Linked DNA regions of Homo sapiens: all the other regions are linked to region 2. Evidence: promoter capture Hi-C in 16 types of primary human blood cells and fetal thymus (Javierre and others, 2016). All regions are on one chromosome and are shown on one strand. The core of a region is centred on a gene start or on the middle of the fragment in contact, and the rest is flanking DNA. Distances in the headings are between cores, read along the strand shown.

Evidence for each region. The method cuts DNA at HindIII sites, captures the fragments that hold promoters and counts their contacts. A CHiCAGO score of 5 or more calls a contact.
Region 1: a contact is called between a fragment that was not itself captured here and the fragment with the promoter of FLRT2 in region 2, in 1 of 17 cell types (endothelial precursors). The highest score is 6.8, in endothelial precursors.
Region 3: a contact is called between a fragment that was not itself captured here and the fragment with the promoter of FLRT2 in region 2, in 1 of 17 cell types (endothelial precursors). The highest score is 6.5, in endothelial precursors.
Region 4: a fragment that was not itself captured here is called in contact with the fragment with the promoter of FLRT2 in region 2 in 1 of 17 cell types (M0 macrophages); the score reaches 9.7 in M0 macrophages.
Region 5: a contact is called between a fragment that was not itself captured here and the fragment with the promoter of FLRT2 in region 2, in 1 of 17 cell types (endothelial precursors). The highest score is 5.4, in endothelial precursors.
Region 6: a contact is called between a fragment that was not itself captured here and the fragment with the promoter of FLRT2 in region 2, in 1 of 17 cell types (endothelial precursors). The highest score is 32.9, in endothelial precursors.
Region 7: a fragment that was not itself captured here is called in contact with the fragment with the promoter of FLRT2 in region 2 in 1 of 17 cell types (endothelial precursors); the score reaches 5.4 in endothelial precursors.

The regions. Positions count from the first base shown.
Region 1 is chr14:84,123,226-84,126,773 of GRCh38, reverse strand. No RefSeq gene overlaps it. Among named protein-coding and RNA genes, the nearest start is that of LINC02305, 210 kb to the right of the region's middle. The HindIII fragment of the contact is 171 bases long and covers 1,193-1,363 here.
Region 2 is chr14:85,528,429-85,531,625 of GRCh38, reverse strand. It overlaps FLRT2 (fibronectin leucine rich transmembrane protein 2), which reads right to left and starts at 1,482. Exons shown (of 2, transcript NM_013231.6): 1 at 1,092-1,482. FLRT2-AS1 (FLRT2 antisense RNA 1) reads left to right here. Exons shown (of 2, transcript NR_184170.1): 1 at 1-3,009. The HindIII fragment of the contact is 5,870 bases long and covers 1-2,484 here.
Region 3 is chr14:84,478,362-84,481,627 of GRCh38, reverse strand. No RefSeq gene overlaps it. Among named protein-coding and RNA genes, the nearest start is that of LINC02305, 560 kb to the right of the region's middle. The HindIII fragment of the contact is 3,990 bases long and covers 1-3,266 here.
Region 4 is chr14:83,989,307-83,992,811 of GRCh38, reverse strand. No RefSeq gene overlaps it. Among named protein-coding and RNA genes, the nearest start is that of LINC02305, 76 kb to the right of the region's middle. The HindIII fragment of the contact is 227 bases long and covers 1,475-1,701 here.
Region 5 is chr14:84,272,298-84,275,875 of GRCh38, reverse strand. All of the region lies in intron 1 of LOC105370603 (a long non-coding RNA gene), which reads left to right. Among named protein-coding and RNA genes, the nearest start is that of LINC02305, 360 kb to the right of the region's middle. The HindIII fragment of the contact is 2,420 bases long and covers 853-3,272 here.
Region 6 is chr14:84,005,556-84,009,006 of GRCh38, reverse strand. No RefSeq gene overlaps it. Among named protein-coding and RNA genes, the nearest start is that of LINC02305, 92 kb to the right of the region's middle. The HindIII fragment of the contact is 478 bases long and covers 1,402-1,879 here.
Region 7 is chr14:84,440,840-84,444,165 of GRCh38, reverse strand. No RefSeq gene overlaps it. Among named protein-coding and RNA genes, the nearest start is that of LINC02305, 530 kb to the right of the region's middle. RefSeq lists an enhancer at 1,198-1,769. The HindIII fragment of the contact is 1,046 bases long and covers 1,335-2,380 here.

The sequences.
Region 1 (3,548 bases), core at 29-2,528, 1.4 Mb after region 2:
AAAAAGGTTGCCAACTTCTGGTCTAGAAACCTACTTAAATTATCAACATGATTTTCAATAAACTATCGAAACATTATTCCCGAAACATAATAATTATTTTATGTACTTAAAGTATGAGATTGGGCATTGTAGGACAAATATAATTGATTTGTATTATTTGCCTATGAATAGCCAGGTTTTATACCAGTATGCCCAGGCTGAAATTGTTTTTAAGGTATACAAGCATATAGTCAACCAACCTGCTTATCTAAGTACAGATACTTTCATTAACATTAAACAAATTATATTCCCTAGTGGTTGACTTTTTACTCTCACAATAAAACATTGTCTTTGATCTGTGTGTCAACACCCTCATCTGTGTTTCAGTCAGGATGGTTCTAAGAATGCATAATCTAAAACTCTTTTCTCTAAAAGCATTTCTAATTTAGAATGTTCTAATAAAAGAACAAATCTTAAGAAATTACTCTGACAGTCTATTTTCCAAAAAAATGGTACCCTATAACTTTTTCATTTTAAATGTTTTTATTTTGATTTTTTGTAACAGAGATAGTAAACTTTATATTTCAATCTGCGTTTCAATAAAATAAAAAATCTACATGAAGTCATTCAGCTGAATGAAAGTTTTCTAAATTATATGTGCCCTCTTTCCTACTCTTATGCAGGGTTCGGATATTCATAAATATTTAAAAAGTCAGGTTTTCAAATCCAATATGACTGCAATCCATTTTAACAGTGAGGACTGCAATCCATTTTAACAGTGAGAACTGAATTGTTTTTGCCCCCGTAGGTGAATAAGATAGACAAGCTAATTGCCTTTTAAACTTACAGATTTTCAGCGCGAGATCTCATTATCATTTGCTTTCAGGAATAAATTTCTCTCAAATTTTGATGGAGAGTATAGCTTCTTTTATCATAAAATCGTGAACCCTTTACCTTCTCTGTCTTTCTCTAAATTCCTATGCAGAGTACTTGATAGAAGCCTGATTTTGCTCATCACTGTTTCAAGTGATTCTTAGAATAACTTGAGAGAACAAGGAGCATACCACATTAGCATAACAGAATACTTGAAAAATCAATGACTGTGTCTAAGTAGAAATGATTGTACCCCATAACCAATATTCTAGACATTTAGAAAGGTTATATAGAATTCATTTAAAACTCTATTCATAAGAATAATTATAAATGAAAAGCTTCTATTCGTCATATATAGATCCTTTCTGTCATTTACGTATTTTTCAACTGGTATAACAAAAACAATCCCTCTGGGAAGGTAGCCTGGCTGAAAAAACATAGCAGTTTGACTCTGCAGTTAATTAACACAAATTCACACACACTGAGATGCATTCAGACACACATACAAGCTTGGGGGCCCGCACACCAATTTTATATGTTTTGGGGTAGGTGGTCTGGATTTCAGGCTAGGGCAGATTGAGATAAACAGATTTTAGGAGGAGAAACATTCAAGGCACAAAAGGAATAGAGAAAAAGCATTGTAAAGATGTGTTCAAGGGATGAGCATTTACCAAAAAATGATAAGGATAAAGAAAGAGAGTTAAGGGCTATATAATTATGATTTGGATTCAGCCTGAGTATATTTTAATTTTGAGTTGGGGGGTGTGTGTTAATTGTTTTTACACTATTGTCTGAATTTTAAAACTATTTCTGAAGCAGTCTTCAATCATTTTCTAGATATGTATAAGTGTGTTTTGTTTCAACTACGATTACTATACTTATGACATGCAGTTTGTTAGAATCCTTTTTGAGTTTTATAAGTACATCGTGTATGTAAGAGACAGAAGTTATGTGTGCTCAAGCAGGTAATTGACAAACTTGAGCTTATTCATTTACTTTCAATATAAAAAAAAAACTAAAATGTGTAGCACATTGAGGTTATTTATCTGGATTAAAGAAGGTTATGTGTGTACACATGCACAGTAAATGCTCTTATTTTATTTTTTTATTAGATGGCTACTGAGTGTGTTAGTTACAATTACTTTTTTTTCAGAAACAGAATTTGTAGTCTCATGAGCATGTATTTTGGAGGAAACAGATAAGAACACTGGGGGCCAGATTATTATTAGGTCTGGCTATCTCCAGAAATATATATTTGAAAAATACGATTTCAGATACTAAAAGTGAAAATAGGAAGGTCAGCCTAGCCTTGTTATGGTGGTGCTATTGTAGAGTGGTTGCAGTGATGAATGGAGTTGGAGAGATTTGAGATTTATTTTGAAGATAGAAAAAGAGCTTGAAAAAACCAGCATCTTACATAACTTCACTTTATTTTTTTGTATTTGATAACCTAGTAAATGTCATTTAATGTGACATAGGAGAATTTGAGAGGGCCAGATAATTATTTTAATGATTGTTTCAAGTGTTTGGTGTGTGTATGTGTATAATGTCAATTCTGACATGTTAATTTTAAGATATCCACAAGACAGACAAGTGTAGATGTCGAATAGCTTGAAATAAATGACTGTGAATCTCAGATGTAGCATCAGGGCTGCAGACACTTTGGAACATGTCTCATGGTAAGGAGAGTCATGAGAATTTGTAAGATTACCTAGATTAGTGTCGAGAAGAAGGATGAGAGGGCTGAGAATTAAGTCCAGAAATTCTCCCAAATTTAGTAGCGGGGTACAAAAATAAACAAGTAACAAAAGAGAAGAAGTTAATGAAGTTAACAAAAACCCAGGGACAATTGGTGTTTCGTGACCCCAAAGCAAAGACTGTGTCAAGAGCTGGGAGTGGGCTACGGCAGTGGGAGAAGGATGGTCATTATTGCTAAATGCTTCAAAGAGTTAGAACCACATGAAGTCAAAAAAATTTTCATTGAATTTGGAAGAGTAAAATTCTTGTGACCTGATCTACAGCAGTTTCAGCTGAATCAGTGTTAAGAGATGTTAAGAAGATAGAGTAGAAATTGAGATGGTGGATATAGACGTTGCTCTGAAGAAGTGCTACTGCCAAATGATGTAGAGCATAGGGAGGTTGTAGGAGAAACATACACACATACGTATGCATATAAGGATTATCATATATAAATTTATATAACAATTTTTATGCATGAGTGTGAATAAATATATGCATATATATGTCTGTATATGTAAACATAATGCATATAGTAATTTACATATATCTGTGTGTATATATGTGTGTGGCACAGTCACACACACACACACAAATATGTATACAGATGCTTCCTGGCTTACAATAGGATTTCATCCTGATAAATTCATCGTAAATCAAAAGTATTGCAAGTTGAAAATGCATTTCATACCCCAGTAAGTCCATCATTTGGTCAAAAGTATTGTAAGTCAGAATACATTTGACACCTGGATAAGTCCATTATAAAGTCAAAACATTTTAAGTCTAATCATTGTAATTTGGGTACCGTCTATGTAGATACGTAAATCATACATTAAGGGTGACTAGGTGCCAGGTTGAATGTTATGAAAATGAATTTCAAGTCTCACAGGCACATTCACCCATTACAAATATGTACCACATTCACCTATTACAAATATGTACACATGTATGTGTTCATG
Region 2 (3,197 bases), core at 233-2,732:
CCTCAGCTCCACCAGTAACTGCCGCTGGCAGGAGCACCACACGCTCTAGGAGTTTCCCGGGTATCAAGTATGGGTCCAGCCCGTCCCAGTTATCCTCTTCCCCTATGGCTTCATTCCCGTTGTCAGTACCCCGACCTCAGCTTGCAACCTTGATCTTGGGCTTGATTATAAATGACGAAAGACCGCGGCAGCCTTCAAAGTGCGGGAGCGAGCCCCGTACTGGTCAGCGCGGCGGAGGGATCTTTCCAGGAGGCCCCAAGCCCCCAAGCCTGTGGAGAGACTTGGTAACAGCTGGCAAGGCCTGCTCCAGCCACCCTCGCTGGCTCCTTGCCCCTGCATTCAGCGCCTGAGGGCGTTATTCGCCCTCTCCCTGCGTCCCACGCAAGCGGCTCAAGGAACTCACTCGATCCGGATTCCGCCTCGTATGCTCTCCAAGCCTTCGCCACCTCCGCAGGCGCTCTAGAAAGGCGTGATGGCCCCAGCTCAGTGCCCGCCAGCCCGAAGAGGACAAGCAGGGCTGGAAGGGACTTGGTTTTGGAAAAAGCCCCACCCGCCCCCACCAACTGGAAGGAAAAGGAATTAGTATCCACCGCATCTGTTTAACTGCTAATAGATCCCAGATTACGGGCAGGTAGTAGGTTGGTGTCTTTAGATACAACAGCCTGATAATAACGCTGGTGACATTAACAACAGCTTGTGGAGGGGAGAGGGTTGTTACTGGTGAAAGTTAAGAGATTCAATCTAGGGAAGTAGGAGACTGAACTCTGACAAGGTTAGGGGCACTGAGAACCCCAATTTAGCATCGATGCATCTACCAGGCAAGAAAATTTGCGTTTTGACCCAGAACTCAGTCATGATGCTCCGTAGAGGAGGTGGATTCGACCAGCAGACAGATGTCCCCAAAGTCGAGAGAGAGCTAAGCTGCCTATTTTCTCTCCAGGTGAAAGACAAAGCCTAGAGCACCCCACTTAAGATGACCACCCCCAGCTCTTTCAAAAAAAAAAAATCCCCCGAAGAGACAGCGTGGTGCCAGCGTAGCAGCAGCTCGGCCGGTTACTGGAAACTTCACCTGGCAACGCAGCCCCTTTTACCTGACGGCTGCGTCTTCTCCTTGCAATGGGCTCATCCGAATCCGACAGGGTCAGGGAGGTGGAAAGGGAAGACGCTGGCGCGGCAGCAGCGGGGATCCCGGGGCATGGTATTGTTTTAGGGGTCGCCGCCGAGGTCCCTCCTGCCCATCGTTGAGAACTGCCACCCTGATCCCAGGGCTCGGTGGACACGGCGGCGGGAGCGGAGATGCCGCCTCGCCGCTGCTGGGCACCAGGGACGGAGGACCAGAGGCGCACCTCGGAAAGGAGTAGCTCAGCGCCTTGGCGCGGAGATTTGCGGGCACTGATGATATCTCGAGCGCTCGTTCCTCCGCGGTGACAATGGATAATGCCAAACGCGCAAGTGACGGCGACAGGTTTCGAACGTACAACTAACTACAAGGTACCCAGCCTGAGACAGTATGCTGCTTTTCCCCTCCTCCTCCTCTCCCTCCTACCAGGGAGGGAACTAACTTAACCCTGTGTGCGCCTGACACTCCCTAGAGAAGCTGGGATCGACTAGGAAACCGCAGGCAGCGGCTCCCGGGGGCGAGAGCTTTGTTCACGTGCGTTTCCAGTGGGTGTGTTGCTGTCTAGGGGCACTCGCGTGGCAAGACGCCCGTGGCTGGCTTCCAGCGCCCAAGATTCAAGGAAGGGAAGGAGCCCTAGCGTTTCATCCGGACCAGACCCAGCCCTCGGAGTCTATTTTTTGCCTCCAGTTACCGGATTTATTGAAGTTGCCAGCGAAGTTGGTTTTATTCCTTTACTTCTCTGCTCTCCGCCCCCGTCCACATCCCCCAACCCTGTATTATTTCCTGTCCTAGCTGCGCTTTAAAGATTCGGAACTTTTCACTCGTTCTAGCTACAGATTTTAACTGTGTTCCGTGTGCGAGACGAATTGTGGAGGGCACCCACCCACCCATGCCAAGTGTAAATGAAACCGCAAGAAAAGCTGCCTCCCACTCACCCATCCAGTGTCCGAGTAAGCCTAATGACACACATTCACATAACTAAGAAGACACGGGAAGATAGGGGTGCGGAGGACGGAGTTTGATGTGTGAATGGGAAATGGAGAGAGGGGACAGCGCGCGCGAGAGAAACAGCGCGAGCCTGAGCCTTAGAATGGAATAAACGGGAAACACACACAAGAATGACGATGCAAAAAATGTATCTAAGTCCCAACATTGACAGCAGAGGGTCAGCTTTAAGCGCCTACATTTTGATCCGCGAAATTTCCCAGCTTTTTTGGAGGCGGTTACATAGAGAACACAGGAGCCTCTGCCTTGGCCGCCCAGATGCTTTGCATTTTGTAAACAGCTTTGACTAAGTGCTCTGGACTTCCAAGAAGTTAACTGGAGTGGAAGGCGAGTCATATTGTGGATGCGGAATGGAAGCTTAGACAAGAAAAAACTGTCAGCAGAGCGCCTCTGCTCTCACCGTCACACCCAAATGAGCCAGGACGTCGCTCAGAGCGCAAACTGAGATCCACACAGGGACATCTTCAACCGAATCTTTCTTCTGTCTCCATTCCGGACTAAGGAAAGAAAGAAAGAAATACGGAGCCTTTATAGAGTATTCAGAGGCTACACACATGGATCTTGCTGAAACGGAGTTATTTAAAAACAGAGAAAGTGTGTTTTCCCATGAGATAGATGTTATAGTTTCTCTCTGAAACATACCCAAGTCTATGGGTGTCAATAATAGCCATTTCAAATGCCTCTCTGAGCCTTGCCAGCCCCAGAAGAGGCTGTGGGAATGCTGCTTCCAGCTTCCCCTGTGCAGAACTCCGTTGTAAATCCTTCTGAGTTTCCAAGGTGGCAGCAGAGCATAGGGATAGCTCCTCAAGCTCCAGCATCAACAAGGAAGATCACATTTTAGGACAAATACTCATCTACCTGCATTTAAACATCCATTTTCGTATGTAAGTGTACATAAGTATCCGCAGGAGGTTCTTCCTTTGAAATCTTGATCCAGGAAAGCAGCATAATTATTTCATCTTTAAGAACACATTTTAAAAAGGCAAAGCAGGATCTTTAAAGCAACAAAGGTTTTGCTTTCTGATTTATGCTGCTAGAAAATGAATGAGATTGAAAATGGGGGAGGGGGTGG
Region 3 (3,266 bases), core at 91-2,590, 1.0 Mb after region 2:
CTCTCATGTCAAGAATCTTATGGGTTACCTCTGCCAGGATGAATTTCTGTGCATATCTCATATGACTAGGGCTAGTTTCATGATATTAATAAAAAAATCAGTGTAACTGGCAGTCAAATAGAAAAACAAAGGGAAAATGAAGGATCCAATATTTTTAAAGTAAGAAAGGATGACCAGGGGTGAGATGCCAGGAGGAACAAACCATTGCCTAGGTAGGGCAGTACTAAACATGGAAGTCCTACATACTTTTCTTTTCCAATATTTATTTAGTGCACATTTACTGGTGCCAGCCTTATGGTAGGACAGCACCAGCAACTGAAAGATCAAATCCTCTCCTTATAGTTAAGCTCATAAGAGGGACACACACACACACACACACGTGTGTGTACACATGTATAAATATCCTAATATATGACAAGTTTTAGAACTGAGACACAATCCCACTGCTAGGAGTGTGCTAAAATCAGAGTTACAAAACTCTTCAGGGAGTTGAGGAAGGCTTAAAGGGTTTTAACATTTTAGGTGGCTTCACAATCTGCATAAGAGCTATTTTAAAAGTTTCACTTGATGCCTTTTTTATGCATACAGAAAACAGCACAGATTACTTGATGAATTTATAGAAAATGTACCCAACTGTGTTAAATACTACCATGATGAGGATAACAAACATTATCAGCACTCCAGAAGCCTCAAGAGTTCCCATATATAAATGTTCCCTTTCTCCCAAAAGATAACTCCTATTCTGACTTCAATATTTGTCAGGTGGAGAAAAGAGATCAGTGGAGAGTAAAAGAATCTAGGCAGAGAAAATGCCTAGTTCCCATATCAGTAGATAAGAAATGGAGATAACACATCCTGGAAATACTGGGCATGTAATGCATGTGGGGTGGGGGTAGGATAATCCATGGGCCTAAGAACAGTTTGAAAAATATTAATGCTGTACTATTTTATTTATTTTATTTTATATATTTTTTTTAGAGACGGAGTCTCGCTCTGTCACCCAGGCTGGAGTGCAGTGGCGCGATCTCAGCTCACTGCAACCTCCACCTCCCGGGTTCAAGCATTTCTCCTGCCTCAGCCTCCAGAGTAGCTGGGACTACAGGCTAATTTCTTTTGTATTTTAGTAGACACGGGGTTTCACCATGTTGCCCAGGCTGGTCTCAAACTCCTGAGCTCAGGCAATCCACCCGCCTTGGCCTCCCAAAGTGCTAGGATTACAGACATGAGCCACCTCGCCTGGCCAGCATTTTATTTTATTTATAGTGTATCATACAGTGAAATAGACTAATTTTTTTGGTGAAAAGTTTTGTGAGATTTAGTAAATGTATAGATTCATGTAACGACCATCACAATTAGTATTTAAAGCAGTTCATCACTTTCCCATACTTGCCTTACACTCTTGCTTTAGAGTCATGCTTTCTCCTGGCCTAAAATTCATGAATCAATGGTGAGTCCTTCACTACTATATTTTGACCTTTTCAAGAATGACATATAAGAGGAGTGTTACAGTATGCAGCCATTTGAGCACAATACATTCAAGATTCATCCAAGTTATTTGGGGTATCAGCAGTTCATTCCCTTTATTGTTGAGTGATATTTCACTTAACGGATATACCACAGTTTCTTTATCCATTCACTTAGTGGAGAACATTTGCGCTGTTTCCAGTTTTTGGTGACTACGAATGGTGTTGATATAAACATTCCTATACAGATTTCCATGGGAACATAAGTTTTATTTCTCTAGGGTAAATAATCAGGAGTGAGATTGCTAGATGATGAAGTGAATACTTATTTAACCTGATGAGAAACAAATAGTTTTGTGAAGTCGTTTCATCAGATCTACTTCGTGTATTTGGAATCTCTGTTGCTAGGTACATATATGTTTATTATATATTAATTGCCATGTCTTTTTGTGAAATGAGTCTTTTATCATTAGGCAAGAATCCCTCTGATACTACTAATACTCCTTCCTCTGAATTCTACTTTGTCTCATATTAATACAGGGGTGTGAGCTTTCATTCAGGTTTGCATGGTGTATCATTTTCTATACTTTCATCTTTATTCTAATTACGTAATTACATTAGAGATGAGTTTCTTGTATACAGCATATAATGGAGGCATTTTCATCCATTCTAATACTCTGTCTTTTAGTTAGTATGTTTAGATATTTAATGTGATTTTTGCTATGTTTAAATTGAAGTCTACCACTTTATTATTTGTTTTCCACTTGTACTCTAATTGTTCATTCTCATGCCTTTGGGGAGTTACGTAAACGTTTTTTGTCTTCCATTTAGATTTTCTAGTGCATTTTTTACTGCATCATTTTTAATAGTTATTTTCATGGCTGCTCTAGGGACCATAATATATAAATTTTTAACTTTTCACATTCTACTTAGACTCAATATTTTACCATTTCTAGTGGGAACGTAAAACCTTACTACAATTTGGGTCCTTTTAACCCCTCCCCTTTATGTTACATATTATATCTCTGTACATTTAAAAACTCCAAGAGGAAATATTTTAACTTTCGCTTTCTTCAACTGTCAAATATATCTTAAGGAACTCAAGAGAAGAAAAATAGTCTGCTAGATTTACCTAGATAATTACCATTTCTACTGTTCTGCCTTCATTTCTCAGGTTTCAAATATTATTCTGGAATCACTATGCTTCTGTTTGAATAACTTCCATCAGCAATTATTTTAGAGCAGGTTTGATTTCCTTTACTGAGAGAATATTTAATTCACCTTTATGTCTGAAAGATATTTTTGCAGAATAGTGAATTCTGTGTTGACGATATTTAAATTTTATTTCAGTATTTTATAAATGTCATGCAATTTCCTTCTGACTCATGATTTCTAATCAGAAATTTGTGGCATTCAAATCATTGCTCTCCCATAGGTAATGTATTTTTTCCTCTGGTTGTTTTCAAGGTTTTATTTTCTTTATTTGTCTTCACTTTTTAGCAGTTTAACTATGATATGATAAAAAGGTTTCCTTATAATGTGCATTAAATGTCCCACACAGTTTACCTCTTGATTATTTACTTTTATTTTTCTGCAATTGTTCCCTAGATAGAAATTTTGTTTTTGTAGTGAGATTTCAATTATTTGAAAATGGGAGCCAAATTTTGTTTCTTCTTTATCACAAAACAATGTAGGTACTTGGTAAAGGATATTCATTGGAAATAAATTAATAAATACACTAGCAGAATGTATCTTTGCAGAGAGAGGAGTGAGGATCTGCCTTTAATTGAACTCAGCATGGCC
Region 4 (3,505 bases), core at 339-2,838, 1.5 Mb after region 2:
CTTTTTCTAAAGATATTCTCTCACCAAATGCAAATTCCCTGGCCATTATTCTTGGGCACTTTGAGTGGGTAACGAGTCAAGTATTTTAAAAGAACTTTTAAACTCCCTTGGTAGTGGTAGTAATTACTGACGTTTGCACAAAAATCTAGTTCTCCACCTCTCCCATAAAGTTCCTTCCCTCCATATCTTTCCACGCACATGGTAAAATTGCCCTCCCAGCTCTCTTACTGATTAGTGGAGTAACTAGGTGTAACTAGGTGTACCTAGTTCTAGCCAATGAGTTGTAAATAGAACTGACAAAAGTCACATATAGGCAGGAGCATGCAATACAGATGCAAAACCTACCAGGGCCCACTTTCTCTTTGGCATGACAACTGGCAATGTTCTAGACAAAGGACTTGCCTTCAGTTGAGATCTCAGAGTAGAGATGATGAAGAGAAAACCCCACCTAACTGGAAATACCAGACAACTTGAACAAGAAGGAATCCATTGCAGATGCACTACTGGAAGGCTGGGTCACTTTTTACTGCAGCATAACTTAATGAGCCCTAACTGATTTAGAATTTCTACAAATTCATCAAAGTGCCTCCCTTTGGGATGAGGGAGCCCTTATGTTGGTTTGTTTGCTTTCTCTCATTTTTGAGGTCTCTGCTAAAACTGAGGCAGAGTTCCATTTAGCATTCTTCAAGCACTTAAAATTGTGGTTGACAGCACTGCACAGATTCTGAAGACACAGTGCCTGGCTTCCAATCCTAACGAGATTGTGTAGTGGCTTTATGTCCTTGGACAAGATGTTTGACCACTCTGTGCTTCAGTTTTCTCATCTGCAAAACATGGATAATAGTAGTTCCTATCTCACGGGTTGTTATGAAGATGATTATACTTAACATTTTTAGTGGGTTTGGATTAGTGCCTGCCACATAGCAATCTTCTACATGCATGCTTACTAATAAGTGTGATATAGTTTTTAACGTCCATCTCTTTATCACTAGCAAGGTACAGCTGAAATGTCTCCAGCTTGCTGCTCTTTCTTCTCTTCAATGCTCATTGCTTCACTGAGGTGCTAAAGTCTGTCTCTGCCTGTCTGTGCTGAAAGGCCAGATCTTTGAGTCAGGGATTTATTATCCTTTGCTGTAGATTCTTAATTTCTCTATCATTTTTTTGCTTACAGTTCTAACATCAAATATTCCTTAGTTCTCTGATATGGTTTGGATATGTGTCCCCTCCAAATTTCATGTTGAAATGTAATCCCCCATGTTGGAGATGGGGACTGCTGGGGGGTATCTGAGTTGTTAGAGTGGATCCCCCATGAATGGCTTGGTGCCCTCCTCATGGTAGTAAGTGAATTCTTGCTCTGAGTTCATACAGTGGCTAGTGTTTAAAGGAGTCTAGTTCTTCTTCCTCTTCCTCTTGCTCTCTCTATCGCTGTATGATACATGGACTCCTGCCTCACCTTCTGCCATGATTTTAAGCTTCCTGAGACCTCATTAGAAGCCAAGTAGATGCTGGGGCCATGCTTGTACAGCCTTCAGAACCACGAGCCAAAATAAACCTCTTCTCTTTATAAATTATCCAGTCTCAGGTATCTCTTTACAGTGATGCAAATGAACTAACACAGTTCTCATCAAATCAATTTCTACAATTCTTGTTACTACAATTGCTACTTAGTTAGATCTACATAATGCAAAGCTATGGGAAGCTTCCTTGCTGTAGGCTCCACAAAACACCAGCGGCAGCTACTTTATTATGGGAATTGGACACATTTTTAAATTTGTGTTATTGTGTCTATGATCCACCATCACTTTGATTATAGGAGGGGTTAAATTGGTCTAGAATTCAGGGTGACAGGGGCACATGGAGCAACTTTCTGAATTCTGACAATTTGAATATAGCTTTCTTATTTTACTTTATTGAAATTACTACTATTGTTGAAATAGCAACTCTCTGCACAATGCTATGACACATGTTCTCTTGCTATATCTAACTTGTGTTTTTACCATTTAACTGTTTCATGGTTATCGTTAAGTAGGCAAGGTAGGCCTGGCTCTAGTATTCTGGAATTGGGTGATTAGATCATAGGAGATGACAGTATGTGAACTAGTGAGAAAATATACACCTCTTCTTATGTATGGTTCTTCTGTTTTAGATAAAGTATGTTATTTGTTGTTTTTATGTATTTTACAATTCTATTTTTACTATAATAATTCCCAAGCTGGGTGCAGAGGCTCACGCCTGTAATCTCAGCACTTTGGGAGGCCAAGGCAGGAGGGTTGCTTGAAGGCAGGAGTTCAAAACCAGCCTGGACAACATGGTAAGACCCCGTCTCTACAAAACAATACAAAAAAAAATTAGCTGGGCATGGTGGCATGCACCTGTGGTCCCAGCTACTTGGGAGGTTGAGGTGGGAGTATCACTTGAGCCCTGGAAGTAGAGGCTGCAGTGAGTTAAGATCATGCCACTGCACTCCAGCCTGGGTGACAGAGTGAGATCCTGTCTCAGAAAAAATAAATAAATAAGTAACTCATAGAATCTTATAATTATAATATTGTACTGGATAATAAATTATAAGCAATTTTACAGTGATGCAGGAGAAATATAATTTTTATGTGAATTATTAAAATATCTTTCTCTTTCATAGAAACTTAATAGAAATGTTTCTGTGAAATCTAAGATAACCTTGGAATGAGTCTATTCTCTTAGAGTATATGTTCTCCTTGGACATTTATTAGGGACTCTAACATTTTATTCTGCTGTAAATTTTAGTTGCTATCCTATTCTTTACAACCAACTTTTCAAAGTTTAATGTCAGTTCCTAATTTGACTTTAAACTTGGCAAGTTTCTGAGTCTATGTGATATAATACGAGTTTCAACTTCCCTCATTAATCTTTTCTGCTTTTGTTGAATTCCTTTGGGAAGCAACAAAGACAACAGGGATAAGCTGGCATAAATCGTAATTGTTATTTGTAGGAAGAAGATGTGCTGAGATTCTTGCTGAAAATGTGCTCTCTATAATCCTCAAGTGAAGAACAGTGTAGAAAAATACATGTGGAGGAGACAAATTTCTCCTTGAAATAGTTTGTTAAAGTCATTGGTTTATATTAATATGTCTTTTGAATATAACAATTATTCTATCTAATATTATTTAATGCATATAATCAAAGAAAAATAAGCAATAGAGCTGTGTTTCATTCAAATTTTTCAGCATGGAGTTTGAATTTTCCAAGCTAAAAACTTGGGATTTTGAAAGAAGTAAGATCCCAGTTTGGGTTGTGTACCCTGAAACTCACAATAGATCAGAATCACATGAACTTATACCTGGGATTTTTTTTAAGAAATAATTTTATATTTTATAAGAAATAAGAATGAAGACCTTAGATTGAGAATAGATATTGTCAGAAATGTTACATTTTGTCTACAAAATGTTATATACATAGCGTATACATCATGTGAAATTGATTTATTAAAACAAAGTACATCAGTATTCAACAGGAACCTTATTCTAAG
Region 5 (3,578 bases), core at 813-3,312, 1.3 Mb after region 2:
TTAACATTGTTTAACAAAGTAAATGTAAGGTTAATTACTATAAATGTTCGCCACATACCACTAATCCTTAATTATTATGCAGATGAATAACCTTAAAATGTAAACATTATTTTATATATATACATATATATACACACACACATGCATGCTATACACACACATACATGTTATATATATATGTGTGTGTGTGTATGTGTTAGTGTATGCATGCATATACAGAAAAGAAAAACAATAGTTTCCTAATACCATTAAATTGGCTGATCACAGAACTGGACTTTCATATTTTGATAAATTTTGCATCTTATAGAATCATTAAGAACTTACACTTACAAAATAAAAAGAATACAAGAAACAAGAGGATAATCTTCCTAATACTAAAAGGAATGTGTAATGATTGATTGAAAGTTGACTTAAGCATTTGATAAAGCTTTGATACAGCAGTAACAAAAGTCAAAAAATGTATGTATAATTTTAAATTCATAGAACATTGTATTAAATATAAACATTCTGTCTGGATGGTGGTGGTGTACATGTTCATAAGGGAGAAATGTAACAAAATTATTTGGATAGAGAATTAACAGAAATATGCTTTGTAGTATCTGGAAGGGAATTCAATCAGTGAATTCAAAGAGAAAATAACTTCTTTAATTACAACATCTAGATAAACCTCTCAATATGTTTTATTTTTCTAAAAACCCAGTAATACTTGTCTATATTAATTATTTTAATATATATACCAAAGCTTTAAAATGAATAATTTATACTATTGCCATAATCTCAATATTCTGATTACACAATCAAATACTAAATATGTTATTACAACAGAATACAACACACCATTAATTCAAAGCTTAAAATGCTTTTAAAGATTTGAATTCTATAGCTTTCATTATTGTTGTTATTTGTTTACTTCATCATTTGTAAATTTCAAAGTCATCTAGGTTTGCAGCAAATGTTCTGAGGCAGTTACTAACTACCATCTCTATTGAGAAAGTTTGAAGGTCATGGCATTTAATAGAAGCCCAAGTTCCATACTGGATTCCTTCCAAGCTGTTCTCATTCTCAAAAGAGGGAACTAAATCCATGTTTTTGTGCTAGCATAAATTCTCCATATTTCTGAATCAAATGTGGTACTACAATTTCCCTTGACATTAGTTTCTACCTTCAAACTGGAGTGGACAGAAAGGTTGTCATGGTAATGGTGTAGTATAAAACTAAAAGGAGGATGACAGTGCTTCCAGAATGTCTTCTTTTGTCTTAACGTATTGTCAGCATCTTTAGGGACATAAGCATCTTCTTCAGTTTCTGAATAAGTAGCCTTGTTGTGATTACACTTTGAATACTTGTTAAAGAAGCATAGAAATGATTGCTTCTTCATTGAAACAGTTAGGGCAGATGATTTGCAGTTATATTATTTCTTCTATTAAACAACAGGTTATGAGCCTACAGGGATGAGCTACTCTGGGTATGAAATTCAAGTAAATTTAATGCATAGTAGGGAATACTAAATACAGTATTTACCTGAAAATCCATCGTTCTATTATGAGATCTTTGCAAAATAGAGAAAGCCAACAAGAGAGAGTTGTTTTTTTTGCAAATCCTGTCTTGTACTTCAGTATCTCAAAGCAGTTCAGTAGAAATCATCCGTCTACAGGAGAATTAAGTAGCTTATAAGCATAGTTTTAGTTTTGATTGCCCTAGTAACTATGATGATAGTCCCTCTTGCTACTAACACTTCAAAGACTCATCTATTCTCATTTTCTTTTTTTCTTTTTCTTTTCTTTTTTTTTTTTGTTCGTTTTTTTTTTTTTTTGTTTTATGAGATGGAGTCTCACTCTGCCGCCCAGGCTGGAGTGCAGTGGCGCGATCTTGGCTCACTGTAAGCTCCGCCTCCCGGGTTCATGCCATTCTCCTGCCTCAGCCTCCTCAGTACCTGGGATTACAGGACCACGCCCGGCTAATTTTTTGTATTTTTAGTAGAGATGGGGTTTCACCGTGTTAGCCAGGATGGTTTCTGTCTCCTGACCTCGTGATCCGCCCGCCTTGGCCTCCCAAAGTGCTGGGATTACAGTCCTGAAAAAGAAGAAAATTCACAAATTATGAACCCAGTGTAGGATAATAAATGGCTATATGACCAGGAATGCTAAGACAAGACAAATTAAGAGGTTTCAATGACATTAAAGAAAGGACAGAGATAAGTATGCTGAGGGCAAGATTAAGGTATGTGGTCCACAGCAAAACGTGCATGCCCTTGTTTGATATAGGGAGATTGTAAATCAGAATCTGGGAAGGGTAGTTTCTCCTTCATGACAGTTATACTTTTCAAATTAAAAGATCAGAAGTCGGGAAAAATCACAAAGAACCATGAACTGAAGAGGGAGAGCTGAGTGAGCAGGAAACAGCTGTGATATGGCCGACCCAGGAAACCTTGGGAATTCCCAAAGGAGGAAATTATCTTCCACCGTCAGGATGTTTCATGAGGCTTAATGCAGGATTACTTTTCACTGGGAACTAGCCTTGAACTTGGGAGAGGAAACAAGTAAATTTTAGCTTCATACTGAATGTGAAGCTAAAAGGAAATCAAAACTGAGGCAAAGAATAATGCCTTAAATATTTGTGGTTAAAACTTGAGTGAGGTTACATGGACTCCTTTTTATCACATTTATATTTTTACCAGATTCATTAATTACTTAGTTATCCATTGTTCCTCCATTAACGCTTTCACTAATTATAGAGCTCGCTCAGAGTTTTGCTACATAGATATAGTGTCTGCAATATCTTAACAATATACTTTATTAGAAACATTATGCAGATAACCTGTTTTAATCCCAGTTCTGCCAATTTTGCCTCTCTCTGCTTAATTTTTTTTCATGTGTGAAATGTGAATAATATAGTGATGTCAAGGCTAAGTGGAAATTATTTGAGATAATTTATATCAAAAGCTCAGGCTTATCAAGAACTTCCCACATTCCAAGCACTATTCAGTGTATAAAGAAAACATATGAGAAACTTGGCTTTGAGAGGTTTATATTTCATACTTGCAAAATGTTTTTCTTTTTGATCTTGAAATTAGTGAAGTTTTCCAGGGCACTGTCTTTACTTTATACCCCCCGTTCCCCTGGAGCTAGCTAAATGTACAGCAAATAACAAGTATTCGACGGAATAACTTTGAGTTGCTCAATGTCCTTGTGAGGTAAATTGGGAAACTGAATAATTTCTGTTAGTCCATCCAAAGAGATCAGTACAGGTTATCAAGGGTCACACAACAAGCTTATGGTGAAGGCTGGTCAGAAACACACTCCTTCAGATTCCAAAATTAACAAACACCCACACTACTCATGGTTAATATTATAGGAAGATACTTCAGCAGAAAGGCAGCATTGAGAAATTTGGGCTTTGGAAGAGATAAGCATATCATCTTTGTTTTAATGATGAATTGCAACAGAGAGTTCCTAAGATAAGCATCTCCCATAAGGAGGGACATTGCTCAATCTGGTGAGCAAATGTGCAGACAGTGCATGATTCTGTCTCTTTATGCATGCAATACTCCCAAGACCTCCAATTAGGCAGTTTCTTCC
Region 6 (3,451 bases), core at 391-2,890, 1.5 Mb after region 2:
ACAATGACTGAGATAAAATGGCAATGACCTATTTTCCATTTTCTTGGTTTTCAGTCTAATTTTATTAATACTTAAACCCTATAGTTACTCATCATTTTGGGACCAGATTTGGGGACGAGAACTTTCTCTTTCAGCATGAGCCAACTGCTAATCTAGGAAGTATTTGTCTGGTTTGTAATATTTTATGTAGTTGTTAACAGATATGACTTGAACATTTATTTTATAGAATTAACTGTTAATATTTTTCATTTCTCTCCAACAGTTTGAAAATCTGTACTTTTGCAATTGTATATTATATTACCCTAATTAAATATAAGCAAATTGTTTTTAGTTAAATAATCAGAACAAAGAAAGGTTTACTTTTTTGGAGAGCCTGAGTAGTATTCTTATCTGTGCCCATAAGATCCATATATTATTATAATTAAACTGAACTGGGATATGATAGATTTTGATATTTTTCTTTGACTTTTTCTGAGAGTTCTTCAGAAACTCCTAGAATCTATAAATAATATTTTTTTCAGTAGGAAAGCAAGTCATGTTCTTCATTATATATTTTTAAAAATATAATTCAGCTGTTCTCATTAAGTTGCTTCTACTCAATTAATATTTTCACTTTATTCTCCTTTAAGAGAAATCGTAACAGAAATTAATCCCTGATGACAGATTCTTAAGACTCAGCTGATGATTTATAATGATGAGAATTGTTCCAGAGACCTTAAATTGCCCATTCCACAAGGGTCTAAAATGAACTCGTCTCAGCTGTCTGGATCATAATTCCATTCACAGATAGTTTGACAAACTACAGCCCATAGGCCAAATCCCAGTTGCCACCTATTTTGTTAAGGCAAGTGATTGAAGAATGTTTTTCCCCATTAAGTGGTTGAAAAATGAAAGATTAGTATTTCATGATACATGAAAATTATAAAACATTAAGAGTTCAGTGTCCAAAAATAGAGTTTTCTTAGAACACAGCAATGCTTGCTCATGTAAATATTGACTGTTACTGTTTTTATGCTCCAGTAGCAAAGTTGAGCAGTTGTGATAGAGAACACACGACTAGAAGAGCCTAAAAATATTTACTACCTGGCCCTTTACAGACACAGCTTGAAGATTCTGTTACATAAGGCACTAAATTGGAATTAAATTCAGGAGATCTTAGACTTAGTCCTTGATCTGCCATGTGCTAGACACGTAACTTTGGGGAAAGTTTCTAACCATAGTGAGACTCAGAATTCTCATTGATAAGATGAGATAAACAGTAAATCTGAACTGTAGGGAGACAAATGGTGAAAGGGCCTGTTAGACCACAAAACAATGTAAAATGAAAGAAGATAACATTAAATTAGATGCACATATTCATTTGTACCAGGCAATTAAAACAAGTATAATGTGATCAAAGCTTTCCACAAGGTATGCATTCAATTTTAGAAAAGCAATTTTGGTTCAAGTACAAGAGAAAGAAAAAAAAATCTTACAGATTATCAAGTTCAACTCAATAATTCATCTAGTATAAGCAAAATTGCTACTTTCTTGATCTTTCCAAGGACCTTGCAGACAACTTGTGTAGTGAAATGACTATAAAGGTCAGATTCACCTTTTCACTTTAGACATGATGACAAAATATATGTGCGCATATAGACAGTGGGTATGGGCATTTTTTAATATATGCACATAAATGTACATGAGGAAGAGTACCGAAGGGACCCACTTAGACTTGATGCCTCTAACATTCTTCAATTAATTAAAGTGTCATTTCAGAAGCAACCAAGTTGGAAATCAATCACAGGAAGATTCACTTTCAGCAGGGGGCTGAGGGCAAATTTGTGTGTCTTTAAGTGGGTACTGAACTCTGTGTGTGTGAAGACAATTGAAGGAAGCTTCAGGAAGCCTGGATGCTGGACCCTTAGGCAGCCTGCTAGTAAGAGGCAGACAGACAGCCCAGGCTTTCCTTGTGCAATCACAGTTTTTCCGGTGACATTCCACTTTACAGAATGATGCCACTCTTGTCAATGAGCCAAATTCCCAGTTCGAGAGCGCCAATCTACTCTGAACAAAGAGAAGCACCTGGGGCATGCCTGTTTTGATAGCCTGCCTGGCTCCTGGAGTGGCTTGTGTCCAGAGAGGATGTGGATAACAATGCCTTTGACTTGGGTCCTTGGGGGTTCATGAAGGTGGAAAATTATAGGATCAGAAGGAAAACTGACTCCTGGGTTGGCTATAAACCCCAAGGCAAAATTACAGGATTAAGGACTCATCAGTAGGTCAGAAGTGACCCCTAGTGGGGTCTACAGCTTTAATCTCTTCAGTGAAAATTATCTCTGCCATAATACCTGTTTATGATACAGTAAGGAGGGACCACACTTACATTAGGCACCACTTGATGAAGGGAATAAAAAGAAAAAGAAAATGAGAAATAAATTAGAAATCAAAGTAAGGGGGAAAAAATTAAAAAGAGAAAGAGAAAGAGAAAGAAAACAAGACAGAAAAAACTCAAGTACCAGAAAAAAAAAAAAGGTAAGAATATCTACATTGTCTTCCTGATAATTTATTTCCCTTAGTGAAGCAGCAATTGATGACAAGCATTAAAGTAATATGACCATATCACTCTTCAATTCAAAATCCCCTCAGCACCTGATATTGATTTTAAAAGTAGAAACGATTCTCCTTTGCAAAGACTGCAGGATCTTACCTGCAGCTTCTATCTTGCTAACCCATCTTAACTTGTGTCTTTCTTGCTTATGAGCAACACTGCTTGTTTTTAGGTTCCTCAAACTCCTCTTCCCACCGAAGTACGTGGGCACTCACTGCTTCCTCATCCTGCAGTCATCCCACGGCTGGTTCCACCTTGTCATTTCATTTCAGCTTCAGGTCTACTCAGAGAGACTTTCTTCATCCAATCAAATTGAAGAAGTTATCCTCCCTCATCACCATCACTGCATCCTATTTGTTTCCTATAATTTATCTATCTAATAATCTCATGTAACCTAATTTGTTGTTAATATGTATGTTTGTCATTTCACTGAAATGCAAATTTGCTGAGAGCAGGGTCCTAGAAACATGCTAATCATGTAGCAGGTTCTCAGTATCATTTGTGGAATGGATGAATGAATAAATACTTGAAAAGAGTTGGTTATGTAGATATTTTTAAAAGTTTGATTTGAAAGTGACTTGGAAGCCTTTCCATCCAACCCTTTCTATTTTTATGTTACGACTGATAAAACTAAGACCCTTAGAATTTAAGTGAATTATACAAGGTCATATCATTATTTGTGTCAAAGATGGGAAGAACCACAATATTTCACTATATTTATTTTGAAATTTGTATATAAGTTTCTCATTCCAGAAGTGAAGCTGGATGAGTGATTCCATCCAGGAATGCTACAGTATGATAAACCTCAAGAAAGCTATTACACCACCTTGTGTCCTCTTTCTGTAGATAGAATATGGAAGA
Region 7 (3,326 bases), core at 608-3,107, 1.1 Mb after region 2:
ATTTCACCACTGCTGTGACTCCTGAATAGCAACAAATAATGAATTATGGACTTATGCACTATGCCAGCCACCTCCACCAATGAGTGATAAGTCTTTCAAAACAACTTGTGTAATCACCCTTAGCTTCCTTTTAAAAATCCCTACTCGCTGGGCGCCGTGGCTCATGCCTGCAATCCCAGCACCTTGGGAGGCCGAGGCAAGTGGATCACTTGAGGTCAGGAGTTGGAGACCAGCCTGGCCAACATGGTGAAACCCCATCTCTATTAAAAATACAAAAAATTAGCTGGGCGTGGTGGCAGGGAACTGTAATCCCAGGTACCGAGGAGGCTGAGGCAGGAGAATCGCTTGAACCCAGGAGGCGGAGGTTTCAGTGAGCCGAGATTGTGCCATTGCACTCCAGCCTGGGAGACAAGAGTGAAACTCCATCTCAAAATAAATACATACATACATACATACATACATAAAATCCCTACTCCCCTTTCTCTCTCTGGAACACAATTTGGCTGAATCTGTGTCTCCCAAATGACAGTTCCTAAAACCTGAATAATGCCTTGCCTCACTGCTTTGCAGTCTGGTCTTTTACCTTTTCTTGGTTGACAACTGTTTTAATTCCTTCACAAAAGTCTGCTCAACTTCCATTAATTTTCCAGCTTGGGCTAACACCTCAAAATCTTTCGATCAATTCTATATGGGCATGAACATGTACACTGAAATTAGTGGGAGTTCTCAGAATAGATGAGGCAGGAGCAAGACCTATTAAATTTTGAGCATCGTGTCAGTGAGGGTTAAAGAAGATTGCCTTAGACTACTGAAAAAGAGGTAAGACAGAGAAAATGGGTATCTGAATAGTGATTTATTATTAGTAATAAACTTGGCCAAGAGACCAGCAGGCCCTAGAATTAATCTTACCCAGGAAATCGCGATGACAGTTCTCTCAGAGCTGGTTTTGAGCAAAACCAAAAGCTTCCTGAAGAGCCAAGGAGAGGTATGTTCCAAATGTAGCTATGGAAAAGTAGGCCAGTGGATCAGATGCTGGCTTTTGAAGAGCAAAACAATGTTAGGGAAGGAGAAGTGTGGCTTATGCATAAAGAACTGTTTCTATGCACTGTGGATAACAAGCAAAGATGAGATTTAATACTTATACACATGAGAATGCATATCGATGACATATCATGAAATGTAAAGACAGCACTTGTAAGTATTTGGAGAGCACCTGCTCTGTGCCTGCCATTGGGGTGGAAGTGTCAGCATCTTCTTTTTGACATTTCCTAGTGTATTAGTTCATGTTCAGCCTCAGACTTAAAACCAACATGAAAACGACAGACTGAGAAGCTTGCCTTTACATATACAAACAGTGATATATGTTGGCACTTCGGGGCAACATTTGTTCTCTGTCAGCACTTCATTGACGACTTAAAGTTCCTTTATGTTGACTTTGGCAAGGAGAGGGCCAACAAAAGCTAAAACAATAGATTGAAATGCGTAATGCATTATCCTTGATTGTGTTACTATATTTGTTTTTCCCTTGGAGTAGCCAAAGCTGCCGCAGAAGCTGAAACAGTTGAGCTCTTGTTAAGCTATCTGCACAATGCCTAAACAGTTATTGAAAAGCTAAAAAAAAAAAATTGTGTATTCAACCAGTTTCTGCCTCAGGACAAACGAATATTTAGCTCATCTTTAGTATCACATTACTCCCAAACTAGAGTAGAATCTAATCAATTGCAGAAAGCTGAGTATAATATATAAATTATCTCCAAAGTTATTTAAAACAAAACTTATTACTGATTCGGAATTGCATATGCATTCATTTAATTGTATATATTGGACAAAGTTTCCTTAGAAAATAAAAGAAATGATTTATTTAAAAATAAGTTTGTATTAGGTTGAAAGGCCCCAATTCAGTTTTTTATTTTGAAAATCATTAATCACATGCATGTTTGCTATACAAAGTTAATATGAACATAATTAAATATCTTAATCTTTTAAAAGGCAAATAAACTATTGAGTAAGATGAATGGAACTTCCAGTATTTAAAATGCAATTGTAGTTAAGCATGTGTTTTTCTGTCTTTGAAGAAAATTATCTTTTTTGACTCATAATTTCTTTGGCATACAACTTATACAAATTAAATTGATGTTGCACTAGGCTTTTTATATTGTGTATGGATTTTAAAATAAAGGAAGATAACATAAAAATAAAGGTTTTGTATGTTCCTTTTAATACATTTGAAAAAAAGTTTTTAAAAAAATTAATCACAAATTGAGTCCTTAGATACTTTATGCATTAAAAGTCCCTGCTGACTTCTATGAGGTGTGAACTTATCCAGATTGTCAGCTTTGTTAATAATAAAATGCTAAAAAAAAATTGCTAAATTGAAGCTTTAATAGGTATGCAAATCAGGAAAACGCAAAATGTTTAAATGTGCAAGTGCATGGTTTCCTATAAAAAGCACTAAATTCAAAGTTACTCTCTCTTTTCTTTTTCTGGAAGTTATCATAATTAACTAAAAAGTCACAAGAAACATTTGTGACTATAGCTTAAGCTTATTTTTCACATATCCATCACACATAATGAGCTAAGGGACTTTTCTCAAATGTTGTGATTAACATTCACCTTTTCATGAACCCTATGCTTAGAAAAATATCAAAAAAGAAAAATTTCAGGAAACGACAAAACACAACAATAGGTATTTAAAGTCCTTATGTATAGGGACCTTAATTATATCAACAATGTGATCATCAGTGAACATTATTCCTTAGAGGATGCTCATGCTGCTTAATGGACTACGAGAAGGCTTTCAAAGAGCCAAACCTACTTATCAGCCTGGAGAAAGGTTTGCTGGGAATCATTGCTTAATAGACACAGCTTTCTCCTTTGCCAGGAACTTGATTTTTCAACACATTTCTCTAACAGATAGTGCCTTCAGAAATACACAGTTGTGTCCCATTGTGGAGGGCTGCAAAACTGTGACTGTAGAATGACATTCTCAAGTGCCACTGTGCCTCAAATCCAGCACTCAGTAAACATTTCTGACTTTCAGCTATGCCTTAGCCTTCCTAAGCAAGCGTGGAAAAGAAATAAATACTAACTCACATCATATTTTAGTGTGAATGTATTCAGAATTTTTTCCTTTATTAAACAAAAGGGACTATGACACACTGGTGCTACTGAGGAGAGAAAAAGAGCAGGTGTCTGGGAAAAGAGAGTCAAAGTGCACTGAAAAGAGCAAGACATGACTCTACGGGTGTGCCCTTTCCATAGTCCACAGTTTTGCAAATGGCTAACTCATAATGGAAAGACAAAATACTGCATACTTATATCATGAC